2 separate regions of the Homo sapiens genome follow, and region 2 is linked to region 1. Evidence: promoter capture Hi-C in 16 types of primary human blood cells and fetal thymus (Javierre and others, 2016). All regions are on one chromosome and are shown on one strand. The core of a region is centred on a gene start or on the middle of the fragment in contact, and the rest is flanking DNA. Distances in the headings are between cores, read along the strand shown.

Evidence for each region. Contacts are between HindIII fragments. The CHiCAGO score rates a contact against its expected background, and 5 or more counts as called.
Region 2: a contact is called between the fragment with the promoter of FMC1 here and the fragment with the promoter of NCAPG2 in region 1, in 1 of 17 cell types (neutrophils). The highest score is 5.6, in neutrophils.

What each region holds. Positions count from the first base shown.
Region 1 is chr7:158,700,999-158,707,799 of GRCh38, forward strand. It overlaps NCAPG2 (non-SMC condensin II complex subunit G2), which reads right to left and starts at 3,806. Exons shown (of 28, transcript NM_017760.7): 1 at 3,726-3,806; 2 at 824-940. The coding sequence starts at 901. RefSeq lists an enhancer at 2,567-3,145 and silencers at 3,723-3,822, 3,973-4,062, 4,183-4,462. The HindIII fragment of the contact is 5,779 bases long and covers 1-5,010 here.
Region 2 is chr7:139,337,449-139,343,532 of GRCh38, forward strand. FMC1 (formation of mitochondrial complex V assembly factor 1) reads left to right here and starts at 3,889. Exons shown (of 2, transcript NM_197964.5): 1 at 3,889-4,074. The coding sequence starts at 3,937. It overlaps FMC1-LUC7L2 (FMC1-LUC7L2 readthrough), which reads left to right and starts at 3,889. Exons shown (of 11, transcript NM_001244584.3): 1 at 3,889-4,074. The coding sequence starts at 3,937. It overlaps TRR-CCT4-1 (tRNA-Arg (anticodon CCT) 4-1), which reads left to right and starts at 3,252; the gene lies at 3,252-3,324. It also overlaps a transcript of LUC7L2 not described here. RefSeq lists enhancers at 3,070-3,129, 3,440-3,509, 3,540-3,609, 3,865-4,432, 3,880-4,129. The HindIII fragment of the contact is 22,532 bases long and covers 1-6,084 here.

The DNA of each region.
Region 1 (6,801 bases), core at 2,556-5,055:
TGCATGTCTGACTACTGGCCATCCGCTGGTGCACATCCCACCACCAGTCATCTGGTACCTCCAAAATGGAGCCACATTCTCCCTTGAATCTGCCCTCTTCCCACGTTCATGAGCTTGCTGAATGGTACTACACAGTCAGACGCCTGGGCCCTTCCCCACCATATCCATATCCAATCAGTCCAATAGTGCCATCACTTCACTACCAAGCAGCTTCCCATTTCCAGTTCCTAATTCAACCATCATTTTGAAGAGCACAACCTAAGAGGTTAGCCTTAAATATGTCCCTTTGACATATTTCTCACTTGTAGTCAGAGGAATATTTCCAAAAGGCAAACCATATTTTTCTCCTTACCTCTATTTTGTCCACTAGTTCTCTCTCCTTCTCTTTTGTTCTCTTCCTCCCTTGCCTACAGCTCGCTCCCTGCTTCAAGCACCCACCGTTCTCAAGATAAAGTCTGAATTCCTTAAAATGGTAAAGACTCGTGTAGCCTAGCCCCCAGCCTCATCTTCTGCCTTCCTGCTGAACTTCAAGTTCAAACACAACAAACCTTCTCTAGTCTTCAGAGTGACCTTCTTTGTTAGATGGGTCCTTTCCCCCAACATCCCTCTTTGACTGGTTAACTTCTGTTTATCTTTTACATCTTAGCGTAGCCCACCAGCAGGTAGATTTGAGTATAAAGGGTTTTGTTTTCTTCTTTCAAATAAACATTGGTCGCTAAGGATTCACTGAGATAACTATGTTTCTTTTGGGGACATAATGACTTTAGAACATATTTCATATTCACAGTCAAAAATCACAACAAAACTAAAACATGAAACTTACATCAAGTTGAACAAATTGCAAAAACTCTCCAACCAGCTCCTTAGACACGGCTTGTACAAACGTCTCACGTTTTTCCATGACAGATGGCACTGTTCAAATGGCATTTATTTTGTAACCCTAATGGAAAACACAATCATACTGAAACACTTGCAAATATATCTTTTCCTGTAAGATTTAATTTGATATTAACATCCAAGAACTGCAAGAAAATTCCTCAACCACGTATGGCAGACAGTTTCTAAAAACATTCTGACATAAAACACGCTATAATATCTGAAAAACAATTTACTTATTTCCTTTACTGGGGATGTGAATAACATGATATTAATGATATTTTATCAACAATTGTTAATAAAATTACCAACTAAGGAGGGAGAAATCCAAATAGCCTTAGGAAGCTCACCACCATCTCTCCCTTTTTAGTACCTTAGCAAGATGCTGGCTCGGCAGAGCTGAGTTGATTCAACAAAAGAACAATCTGATCCCAGCTGCAGATTCTGAAGATGCTCCCTTTCTAAAGGCCATTCCTCCATCAAAAAAATCCCACTGTTAGTGTCATCTTGTTATTCAAAGTGAGATGGAAAACAGTGGCCCCGGGGGTCACCTGGGATCTTGTTAGACTATGCATTAGGCATGCTCAACCACAGCACCCTCCTCCCACCCCTTCGGGATAATGAGAGCTCAGGGGACTTTGTATACCCTCCATCCTGCCTGTGTTTTTCCAGGAAATTCTATTTCGCATTCACAATACCTGGTGCTACTGGTGCCCTACTGAAAAAACATCAACCTAAAGATGAGGTAATAGCAAATGATGGAACACATTTGCAGTAGGAGCCCCCTCACTTTAAAAATAAATGAAAACCACCTGCACCATTATAAATAGAGCAATATGGAAAATTATTGCCAATAATTATGGGGACAGAGAGTCATCTTAAACATATAATACTAGATTTTAATGTCCAAATTGAACAAAGCAAAAATAACCTCAGTTTAATGACTCCCGAAATAAGTTAACAGTGAAGTCTGGTCATCTCATTCCTCAACTCAAATGGCTGAACTATGAACTACGGTCATGGACCACATAACATTTCAGTCAACAACAGACCACATGTATGACCGTGGTCCCATAAGATTATAATGCCATATTTTTACTGTGCTTTTTCTATGCTTAGATATGTTTAGCGATGCAAATACTTGCCATTGTATTACAGTTGCCTACAGTATTCAGTACAGTAACATTCTAGGAGCAGTAGGCTACACCATACAGCCTATGTGTGTAGGCTACACCTCTAGGTGTAGGCAAGTCCACTCTGTGATGTTCATGCAATGATGAAATTGCCTAACGACAACGTGTCTCCCTCTTTAAATCAAGCATGACTGGCACATTTTTCACTGACAAAGAAAATGGGGAGGGAAGGGAGAGTGGCCAGTAACAAGCATAATGAATAGTGGCTAGGACAAATTCATGATTTTAGAAAAATAATCCAATAAGGTGCAGCAAACACATGGAATCATACATCTTCGCCCGGCAAGTCTGTGAACACTCTCCACTTTTTCATAGTTCTGGTCACTTTTCTTGTTTGCTCTATTTCCAAGTGTACCTCTTTGGCATGTTAGTCCAACTTACAGTAATACACTTCCTCTAGACTACCAAACTTATTCCTATATTTCCCATTTTCCCTCTTATATTAGTGACTGTAATTTTTTAATGGTTAATTTTTCAATCTATCTCCCAAAGTGGCAATATTCCATGTTTCTTGTACCATATGTGCATAAGACCTCAGCCCTGCAGCCAGAATGCTACTTTCAAGGTAAGGAGTCATCTCACCATCCAGTTATCAGTCCGAAGAGCAGGTTACTCTTCGCACAGGAGGTCTGGTACTAAATCAAGATGAGCATTAAAAAGAAGAAATCCCTGTTACCTTCTCACCACCTGTGACTTCCCACTCCGTCCCCAAACTCCTTCCTCATGGACACAACAAGAGGCACCAAACCAGCAACAAGAGTTCAGGAGACTGATGTCTCTGAGGACAATGCCCACGTCCACAGCTGGGGAGATACTCTCTGAGGGCAGTGCCTACACCCAGGGCTCAGGGGGACTCTCTCTAAGGGCAGTACCGACACCCAGGACTGAGGGGACTCTCTCTGAGGGCAGTTCCCATGCCCAGGACAGAGGGGGTCGCTCTCTGAGGGCAGTGCCCATGCCCAGGACTGAGGGGACGCTCTCTGAGGGCAGTGCCCATGCTCAGGACTGAGGGGGTCGCTCTCTGAGGGTAGTGCCCATGCCCAGGACTGAGGGGACGCTCTCTGAGGGCAGTGCCCATGCCCAGGACTGAGGGGGTCGCTCTCTGAGGGCAGTGCCCATGCTCAGGACTGAGGGGGTCGCTCTCTGAGGGTAGTGCCCATGCCCAGGACTGAGGGGACGCTCTCTGAGGGCAGTGCCCATGCTCAGGACTGAGGGGGTCGCTCTCTGAGGGTAGTGCCCATGCCCAGGACTGAGGGGACACTCTCTGAGGGCAGTTCCCATGCCCAGGACAGAGGAGGTCGCTCTCTGAGGGCAGTGCCCATGCCCAGGACTGAGGGGACACTCTCTGAGGACGGTGCCCATGCTCAGGGCTGGGGGGTCGCTCTCTGAGGGCAGTGCCCGCGCCCGGGGCTGGGATTTTCCTCCGACACGGACAAGAAGGACGGGCGTCGCTGAGCTGGGTAGGGGGGATGGCCCGGGGTCGCCAGTTCCGTCCAGTTCCGTCAGAGGCAGCACTGCCCGCACGCAGGTCGGCCGCCTCCTTAGGGGAGGGGAGGCTGGGACCCCGACCAGCCGAGGAGGGGCTTCCCGCCCGATCCCTGCTACTTCCCAGCCCCTGCTCTGAACCCAATCCCGGCTCGGCACCGCAGCTCTTACCTGGGCTCGGGGACCCGCCGTTTCCCGCGCTCGGACCAGATTCAAACGCACCCGCCGGCGCCCCAGACGGGCCCCGCCCTCCCGGTCGTCATCAGGCGCCGCTCTCGCGAGAGCTGGGGCGCCGCGAGCCTCGGGCCTCGCCCACACGCCCGGCCCGCCCCGCCTCCAGATCATGCCCCGCCCACATGCCCGCCAGTCTTCTTCCTGTCTATGCCCCGCCTCTTAGGGCGCGGCCTCGAGCAGCTAAGCCCAGTGCCCTACCGGGCACTACGGAACGCGCACGCGGGGCGCCACAGCTGGGGAACCCATGCCCGGTCCGCGCGCCGACGTCCACTGCGCGCTCGTGCGCGTCCTGGGGCCTCCGCGGAGGGAGTGCGCGGTCCAGGAGAGGGCGGGGCGCTGCGAGCGGGCGGTGTTGTGGGAAGGAGGAAGGAGAGGAAGAGAGAGAGGGGGAGAGAAAGGAAAGGCTTGGGGCGGGGAGAGGCCACAGGGCCGTGTCTGGATCCCCGGGAGGACCCCACCCCGACCTGGCCGGCCCCCGTGACCGCCCTCCCTGCCGAGGGGGCACCTGTCCGGGTGGTCCGCAGCCTGCACACGGTAGGTGCACCCTGGGCAGGTGCTTCCCCCGCAGGAGCCCCTCCGGCCAGGTGCGGCCCCTAACAGGTGCTTCTCCTGCAGTTGCTCCTCCAGCAGGTGAGGCCCCCGGCAGGTCAGCTGCCCATAGGGTGGAGAGGGAGAGGCCTTAGCGGGGACCCTCGGAGGCACCCGTGTGAAGGAGGAGTAGCAATGTCATTCAATTCTTTGGACTTAAATGCCAAAATCACATACTGATGTATCAATCTCTTTTAATTTGTGTCAGCGAATAACTTGATTGGGCGTTCCCAATTTTTGTTGAAAGCAAATTCTTAGAAAACGGTGCTCTTTACCACCGAGCTCTGCATCCCTTCGTGAGGACTTGGCCTTCCCTGGAGCTATATTCTTTCATGCTTGAGATGTCTAGAGTGGTATCTGTTTTCCTGGCTTAACTCAAGCCAGAGGTCTTGGCGAGATTGAAGTCGTTGCACTGTGGGAGCACAGCACCAACCAATAGGAACATCATGGGAGCCACAAGTGCACTTGTAAATTTCTAGTGACCACATTAGAAAAATGAAGATAAATAGGTGACATTAATTTTTAAATATGTTTTATTTAGCCTAGTATATCAAAAATATTTATGTTACTTGTTGGAATATCGTTTCAACAAGCAATATAAAATTATAGCAGGGAGAAGACTGGTTTACTAGGAAGCTTGCAACAGTGAAGCAAGGCAGGCTGCAGAGGGGAGGGAGAAGACCCACTCAGAGGATGCTGAGTCTGGGACCCTTGTCAACAGGTGGCCGATATCTAACATTGCCTATTTCATCCTGGGGCTCCAGCCACCTCTGACCTCCTCCTCCCTCCATACACAGATCCTTCCCTGCCATTTCTTGAATTTTGGTGCCCTCATCTTCTCACTGCTTTCTTCTTAGCAATTTCCTTCATATCCAAGGTGCAAACTGCCACCTTCAAGCAGTGACCTCTGCATCTGGATTTGCAAGACACGGTTATTTCTGAACTCCAGAATTTTCAACAGCTCACTGCCTACTCCCACGCTGGTGCTGACATGCATCCAAAACAGATATCGACTTCCCCTCCCACCCCTGAATCCTGCCCCTTTCCTTATGCTGGTCCCTCCTCCAATCAGCCATCTGTTCCTGGGGTTTCCACTTCCTGAGTAGGAATAATGTAACAAGTTACGCATGTGAGCTCTGAAGCTGTACCACCTGGGCTAACCTGGTTCTGTGCTCACTAGCTGGTGACCTTTGACAAGCCATGGACGACTGAGCCTCAGTTTCCTCATCTATCAAATGGGACCTACTTAAGTACTGAGCCTCCTCTAGGGGGTTGTTATGAGGCCTAAATGTCTGTATAATGCAGAGCTCAGCCTCCTCTAGGGGGTTGTTATGAGGCCTAAATGTCTATGTAGTGCAGTGCTCAGAGGCACGTGGAAGCAGGGCAGCAGGAGCGCCCAGTGCACCCCCAATGCACCTGCCCATGCAGCCACTAATGTCATAGGATCCTTTGGGTATCGCTTCACCAGCTAGAAACCTCCGTGGCCAGCGGTGCCTCTGCTAGAGTTTTGCTCGAGCCCACTCAGCCCAGCAGGTTGCACTCGGCTTGCACTACCAACCCAGATCCCACGCCTGCCAAGGGTGAGCCAGGTGCAGAGCGGCAAGGGGTATGTGAGCAAGCGAGCATGGGGTCCAACCACTGCGCACACCCAGCCATGCAGCTGCTGTGGTGGAGCAGGCAGCTCTAGGTGCCTGCACAGCTGCCGGCTCCATGCAAGGCTGTGGCTGGACCAGAGGTACCACAAGTGGCTTCCACTGCAGGCATCAGCATCTGGACAAGGGGAACATGGTGGCACCCGAAAGCTCACAGATGCCAGGAGCCACAGAGCCCCAAAGGGGGGTTACACTGTGTCACAGCCCTGGCTCGGGGAGCCCCGAGGTCTGGGCTCCCAGAAGGGCCACAGCTCTTCTGTCCTTCTCATCACCCACAGCGTGGCTAGCAGGGGGTCGTGTTTCCGGGGCGGCATGTTTCACCTCATTTGTGTTACAGGTCTTTTGGTCCTGCCGCCCCACACCGGTCCACGGCTCCTTGGCTGTCCCGGCCCCACCGCTGCTTCCCACTGCATGGGGTGGCCACTGGGCGCCAGCAGAGGGTGGGAGGGCTATAGCATTATAGCTCTGGCTTGGGGAATCCCAAGGCCTGGGCCTCTACAAGGGTCACCACTCTTCACTCCCTCAGTCTGGGAGCGTGTCACCACCCGCAGCTCAGCGACCCGGCCAGGAACCCGTTACAGCCACTTTGGCTCCCACCTGCAACTTGGCAAGCTGGCCAGGAAAGTATTACAGCTCGTTTTGCTCTCACCATTCAGCAGGTTCCAAGTTCTTGTCCCATGTCCAGGAAGAATGAGGTTTGGCAGACATCTGGAGGGTGAGCAAGGCAGAGAACAGCTGACCAAATAGCTCTCAGTGGAGAGGAGACTCGAAGT
Region 2 (6,084 bases), core at 2,639-5,138, about 19 Mb before region 1:
TCACTTGAACCCGGGAGGCAGAGGTTGCAGTGAGCTGAGATCTTGCCACTGCACTCCAGCCTGAGCAACAGAGTGAGACTCCATCTCAAAAACAAAACAAAACAAAACAGAAACACCTTCACAAAAAGAAAAAAAATTTTTTTTGAGACAGGGTCTCACTCTGATACCCACGCTGGAGTGTAGTAGCGTGATCAAGGCTCACCACAGGCTCAAGCGATCCTCCCACCTCAGCCTCCCAAGTAGCTGGGAATACAGGCACACACCACCATACCTAGCTAAGTTTAAAATTTTTTTTGTAGAAGTGGGTTTTCGCTGTTGCCCAGGCTGGTCTCAAACTTCTGAGCTCAAGCAATCCATCTGCCTCAGCCTCTCAAAGTGCTGGGATTACAGGCGTGGGCCACTGCTCCCAACAATTATTATTATTTTAGAGACAGTGTCTTGGTGTCACCTAGGGTGCCATGCAGTGGAGAGATAATAGCTCAATGCAGCCTTGAACTTCTGGGCTAAGTGATCCTCAAACTACTGCATAGCTAGAACTACGGTCACGCACCACCATATATACATCGATTTTTTTTATAGAGACAGAGTCTTGCTTTGTTGCCAGGCTCCTGGGAGATTTAATTCTATCACTGTACACTCGGTTAAATAATTAGTTGGTGTGTCTAGCCAAAAAGTAGTATCCGAAAACCCTCAGTATCTGGAAATACGTACGAGTGGGGAACTTTTTTTTTTAGACAGGCTCGCACTCGCTGTGTCACCTAGGCTGGAGTGCAACCTCTGCCTCCTGGGTTCAAGCAATTCTCCTGCCTCAGCTTCCAGAGTAGCTGGGACTACAAGCACGCACCGCCACACCCAGCTAATTTTTGTATTTTTAGTGGAGAATGTGTTTTTGCCACGTTGGCCAGGCTGGTCTTGAACTCCTGGCCTCAAGTGATCCGCCCCCCCTTGAGCCTCCCAAAGTGCTGGGATTACAGGCGTGAGCCACAGCACCCGGCCAAGAGTGGGGAACATTTAAAATGGTAATCTTGAGAAGGCTGTTTAAGATGTGTAAGTTCCTTAATTTAGCCAGTGTGGTAATCAGCTGAGGGTGCTGAAGAGTGACCTATAATGAGGCTGGGTTTTGAACAGAATCTCACATGTTAATACAAATGAGTTTATTATATTTTGTATTTATTATCAGGAGCATTTTTTTCCTAAAGATAAGGCAGGGTATCAGGCTAAGGAGATGATAGGAAAGAAAAAAATCATTTAAAAACTTAAAAAGACAATATAGTTGTAAAAATTTTTCTAAAAAGAAAAAATAAAAAGGCAGGATCATCAAACCAGCTTTTTTTCCCACGAACTAGGCACGCCACATGTTTTTTACCTTTTCTTAACTTCAAATCCTATCGCCCTTTTTTTCTTCTTTCTTTACAGACTAGAAGTCTGTGGGCTGTTTGGCATGCAGTACTTTTAAAGTATTCATTAGTGGCCAATATTTAGAAGGAAATCTATAGCATTAAAACAGATTTCCAGAGTTTCCTGAAAAAAAAAAAGGTTTTTAAAGGATTTGCTTTCCTAAAATGGCAACAATCAGTGGAGGTGAGTAATGGCTGCCCCCTGGACAGGTGGGCTAGTTGCTGTCCAGTTCACCAGGTTTCCAACCAAGCCAGCTTTACTCATTAATGAACAATTGATGTTCCATTTGTTTGTCATTCCTGCTCAGTAGCTTATGTCTCCTAGCCACTGGGGCCAGACAGTGCCAATCCCTTTAGGAGCTTCAGACTAAGCTGTTATGACTATGCTACCAAGGAATAAGCCTGGTGAAGAAACAGGCTTTTCTGTTAGGCACAGGGCTTTCGGAGCTGAACAATTTCCCAGTCTGATGGAAGAGACTGACAACTACAGTATGGAGTAGTGGCCATGTACCTACATTAAGAGTTATTTACGATGAGTAAATAAAGGGAGCAACAGGGGACCAGAGGAGGTGAAATGAATAATTTTCACCTTGCCGTATTGACTTCAAGGGCCTGGAGAAGCGTCTAACCTAGACTTCTGGAGTAAGCTGAAGCCCAAAGGGTAAAGAGGCATATTAATACAAATGGTTAAGTTTCAGGCAGAGGGAATATCAGGTAAGGTGTGTGGTGGGGAAGAGACAATGAAAGTGGAGATACCTGGAGCAGAGGGTGATAAGCGAAAAGTGAGAGATGAAGATTAAGGTACAAGCGAGGATCAATTTATGTCGTCTGAGCTTTATCTTAGGGACAATGGGAAGCCCCTGTGATACTATAAGGGTAAGTTTACTGGGACTCCGAAGTGATTTGTTCGTTATACAATTAGGAACAGAACCAAAAAATGAACTGCTAATTTTTAAAATTAATTCCTAATCAATGTACTATTACTTCCCCGCTGTCCCATGTTTATCGCTGACGCACCAATTCAAAGGACACGGCACATGTTTCTTTTTTTTTTTGAGATGGAGTTTCGCTCCTGTTGCCCAGGCTAGAGAGCAATGGCGCGATCTCGGCTCACTACAACCTCCGACTCCAGGGTTCAAGCAATTCTCCTGCCTCAGCCTCCGGAGTAGCTGGGATTACAGGCATGCGCCACCACGCCCGGCTAATTCTGTATTTTTAGTAGAGACAGGGTTTCTCTGTGTTGGTCAGGCTGGTTTCAAACCCCCGACCTAAGATGATCCGCCCGCCTCGGCCTCCCAAAGTACTGGTATTACAGGCGTGCGCCACCACGCCCGGCCTGCGGAAATGGCCTCAACGCTTCAACCGGAAGCAGAAATTGACCGCGGCAGGCGCCATCTAACGGCCGCTGGAGCAAAGCTCCTCCTGGAAATTCGCAACACCGGAAAAGGTCCGGCTGCTTCCGGTAAAAACCCACCAGAGCTGACGTTCAGAGGGCGAGTCTCGAAGATCCGGCCAATTTGCCCAGCGCGCTGTGCTCCGCGACGGCGCATGCCCGCTTTTGCGCAGGCGCGGGGACTACGGCGCAGGCGCGGAGACTATTGCGCAGGCAAGCGCGTACGCAGAAGCGTGCGCGCGCCCGTTCAACGTCCGGAGCATCGGTGCAGTTTCGAGGGTAAAGCCTTTGGCGCGGTGATGTGGACTTTTGTTCTCTAACTACAACTCCCAGCATACGTCACCCCTCACGTGGGCGCTAGGTGTGGTTTCGTGGGATAGGGTAAGGCGAAAATGAAGTGACGATGACGTACCAAAGAGGAAAATAGTTGAATATGTTGTGTGAGCGCGTCGTTTGCAGAAGCCCCAGTGGCCTAATGGATAAGGCATTGGCCTCCTAAGCCAGGGATTGTGGGTTCGAGTCCCATCTGGGGTGGCCTGTGACTTTTGTCCTTTTTTCCCCTTTCTAAACAAAGCGAAATATGCCAACTTTACTTTTTTTTTTTTTAAATGGGAAGTGTGTGTGTGTTTTTACTAGCTGGTGGGCTGCAATTTTCGAGAATCTGCACACACCCATGTCCTTTGTCTGAGCCGCAGGTCCCCTGGGATTTGGGGAGACGTCAATACGTTGAATTTTGATATCCCTTTTATAAATCATTTAAAAATGTCTTCTCAGCGTGTTCCATATCAAATCCACACCCACACCCCCCGCCGGGCCCGCTTCTCCTGAGACTCAGCGGTTGGTCGGCTAACGGGCATCTTCAATGACGCAGTGAAGAAAAGCCCCTGTTTCCCCAAACCCTTGTTCTGGGTTAGAGGTCCTGGTACCTTCAGTTAACAGTCGGGTTTCGTTTGATTTTGTTACGGCGCCCCTGGGCCTTCGATTAATAAGGTTCGGTCAACGGACAAGTGAGCGGTTCCACTGCTCGTCAGTCGATAGGGGGAGTCGGTAGTCTGTCCGACCGTACCATTAGGCGCCTGGGCCGGAGGAGGGGTTTTCAGGGTCGTAGGACGCCGTTGGGCACCACGCTCGGAGAAGGACAGGACAATGGCGGCCTTAGGGTCCCCGTCGCACACTTTTCGAGGACTTCTGCGGGAGTTGCGCTACCTGAGCGCGGCCACCGGCCGACCCTATCGCGACACCGCGGCCTATCGGTACCTTGTGAAGGCTTTCCGTGCACATCGGGTACGGGAGCCATGTCCCGGGTGCTCTACGTGCTGGGGAGGGAGGAAGAGCCGGGTCTGGGCTAGGGTGGGGAGCACGGTGTTTAATTCCTGCATTTCTGAGGCCAACCCTCCCACGGAGCCCTGGTTCTGACCAAACCAACCCAGGCCCTAGGCTCCATGCTCTGGCATAAACTCGGGGACCAAAGGACCAGCGGGGGGGGGCGCAGAGTCGCTCTGGGGACGTCAGCCTGTCCTGCAGAGGGGCGGACCCGTCCCGAAGGATTTCATTGGCTGGTCTGTTGCCTCTGCGGAGGGCAGTCAGGAAAGTGGAATGGAGGATTCAATGCTGGGGATAAAACAATGAAGATGGAGTTGAAGGGTGTACTGTTGCTAGACTTAAAGCCACAGCATCTGGCCAACAATTTCCTCACCCGTCCCCTAGAAAAGTTATTCTAAGAAGCATTTCTTTTTGAGGCGGAAAAGAACAACTGGGCTTTAGGGAAGGAAACTTGCTGCCCTTGAGCAATGTGGGGAAAGGGAGAACGATCAACTGTCGAATTTCTGAGCCACGGACGTCAGAATGTAAAATCTTAGAACTCAAATTCACCTAGTTTTTAAAAGGTGGCAACGTTAGGGTCTGTGCTAGGAACCTGGTCTAAACAGGAAGAATCAGATGCACATGTGTCCTGTCCTTAAGACACTTGCTGCCCACCTAAGGAGCCATACAGTAAAGTACTGAGGATAAATAAGTGCTCAAGGTGTAGACAACAGGGGCTGGGGTATAAAGAAGGGGTAGTTAGGGAAGGTTTTCCGGAGGAAATTAATCAGGGACCTGAAGGCTAATTTGGAGTTAGCAAGTAAATTGGGGTTAGGGTCCAGGTTTAAAAGCTACACAATTGAAAGCCCAAGGGGAGAAAAATTGCCAGTTGAGAGTGGTTTAGCCCTAAGGTGTGGTGGGTGAAGTGGAGGTAGATGAAGTGGTAGGCCGAACAGGAACTTAAACTTTATTGTAAGTGTAATGGGAAGCCATTCTAAGATTGTGATCACCTCCCAGGTTCAAGCGATTCTCCTGCCTCAGCCTCCCGAGTAGTACAGGCAGGCGACATGCGACACCACGCCCGGCTAATTTTGTATTTTTAGTGGAGACGGGGTTTCTCCATGTTGGTCAGGCTGGTCTTGAACTCCTGACCTCAGGTGATCCGCCTGCCTCGGCCTCCCAAAGTGTTGTAATTACAGGCGTGAACTATCAAACCTGGCCCCATTCTAAGATTTTTAAGGAGGTGACATGATTATAGTTGTACCTTATGGGGATAACATTATTACCCTTGAGAGAGACTTGGTAATGGTTCTGAAATTCATGGTACATTCTGGAAATACCACTCTGGAATGCACTTGAGCATAGGGGAAATGGTTTCTGTTTCCTTCAGGCTCACAGCTAACTGAATAACCATCCCATTTTCTCTATCCTTTCCCTCCGGAGAAGGGATTCTATTAGGGAGAAACCTACCCTTTCTCCACAGGGAAAATACAGTGTTCTATTTCATTTGATCTCTTTTGGGTTCTTGTGATCTATTTACTGTTTCCTGTCTATTGCTGACCCTTTTGTCCTCATGATTCAGGCTCAACCGAATCAAGAGCAGTATTCTATCCTACATTAACCTAGAATTCCCATGTCAAATTCCACAAATTTGGGCTTATATATTAATAGAAGTGGATGCTATGATTTGTTAATGCTTGACATTGGTGTTGATTTCTCATAAAATTTAAATTACTAAAAAGTTAAATTTGTATTAAAGCAGATTAATTCTGTTTTTAAGCAGCTAATGAATGTTGCTTTCAACATGATCTGCAGATCCTAAAACCCACATTCTAACAGCATGGGCAACATAGTGTAGTGAGACTTCCTCTCCAAAAAATTTGAAAATTATCCAGGCGTGATGGCCCATCCTCTAGTTCCAGCTAATTGGGAAGCTGAGGTGAGAGGATCACTTGAGCCCAAGAAGTCGATCAAGGCTGCAGTGAGCCATGT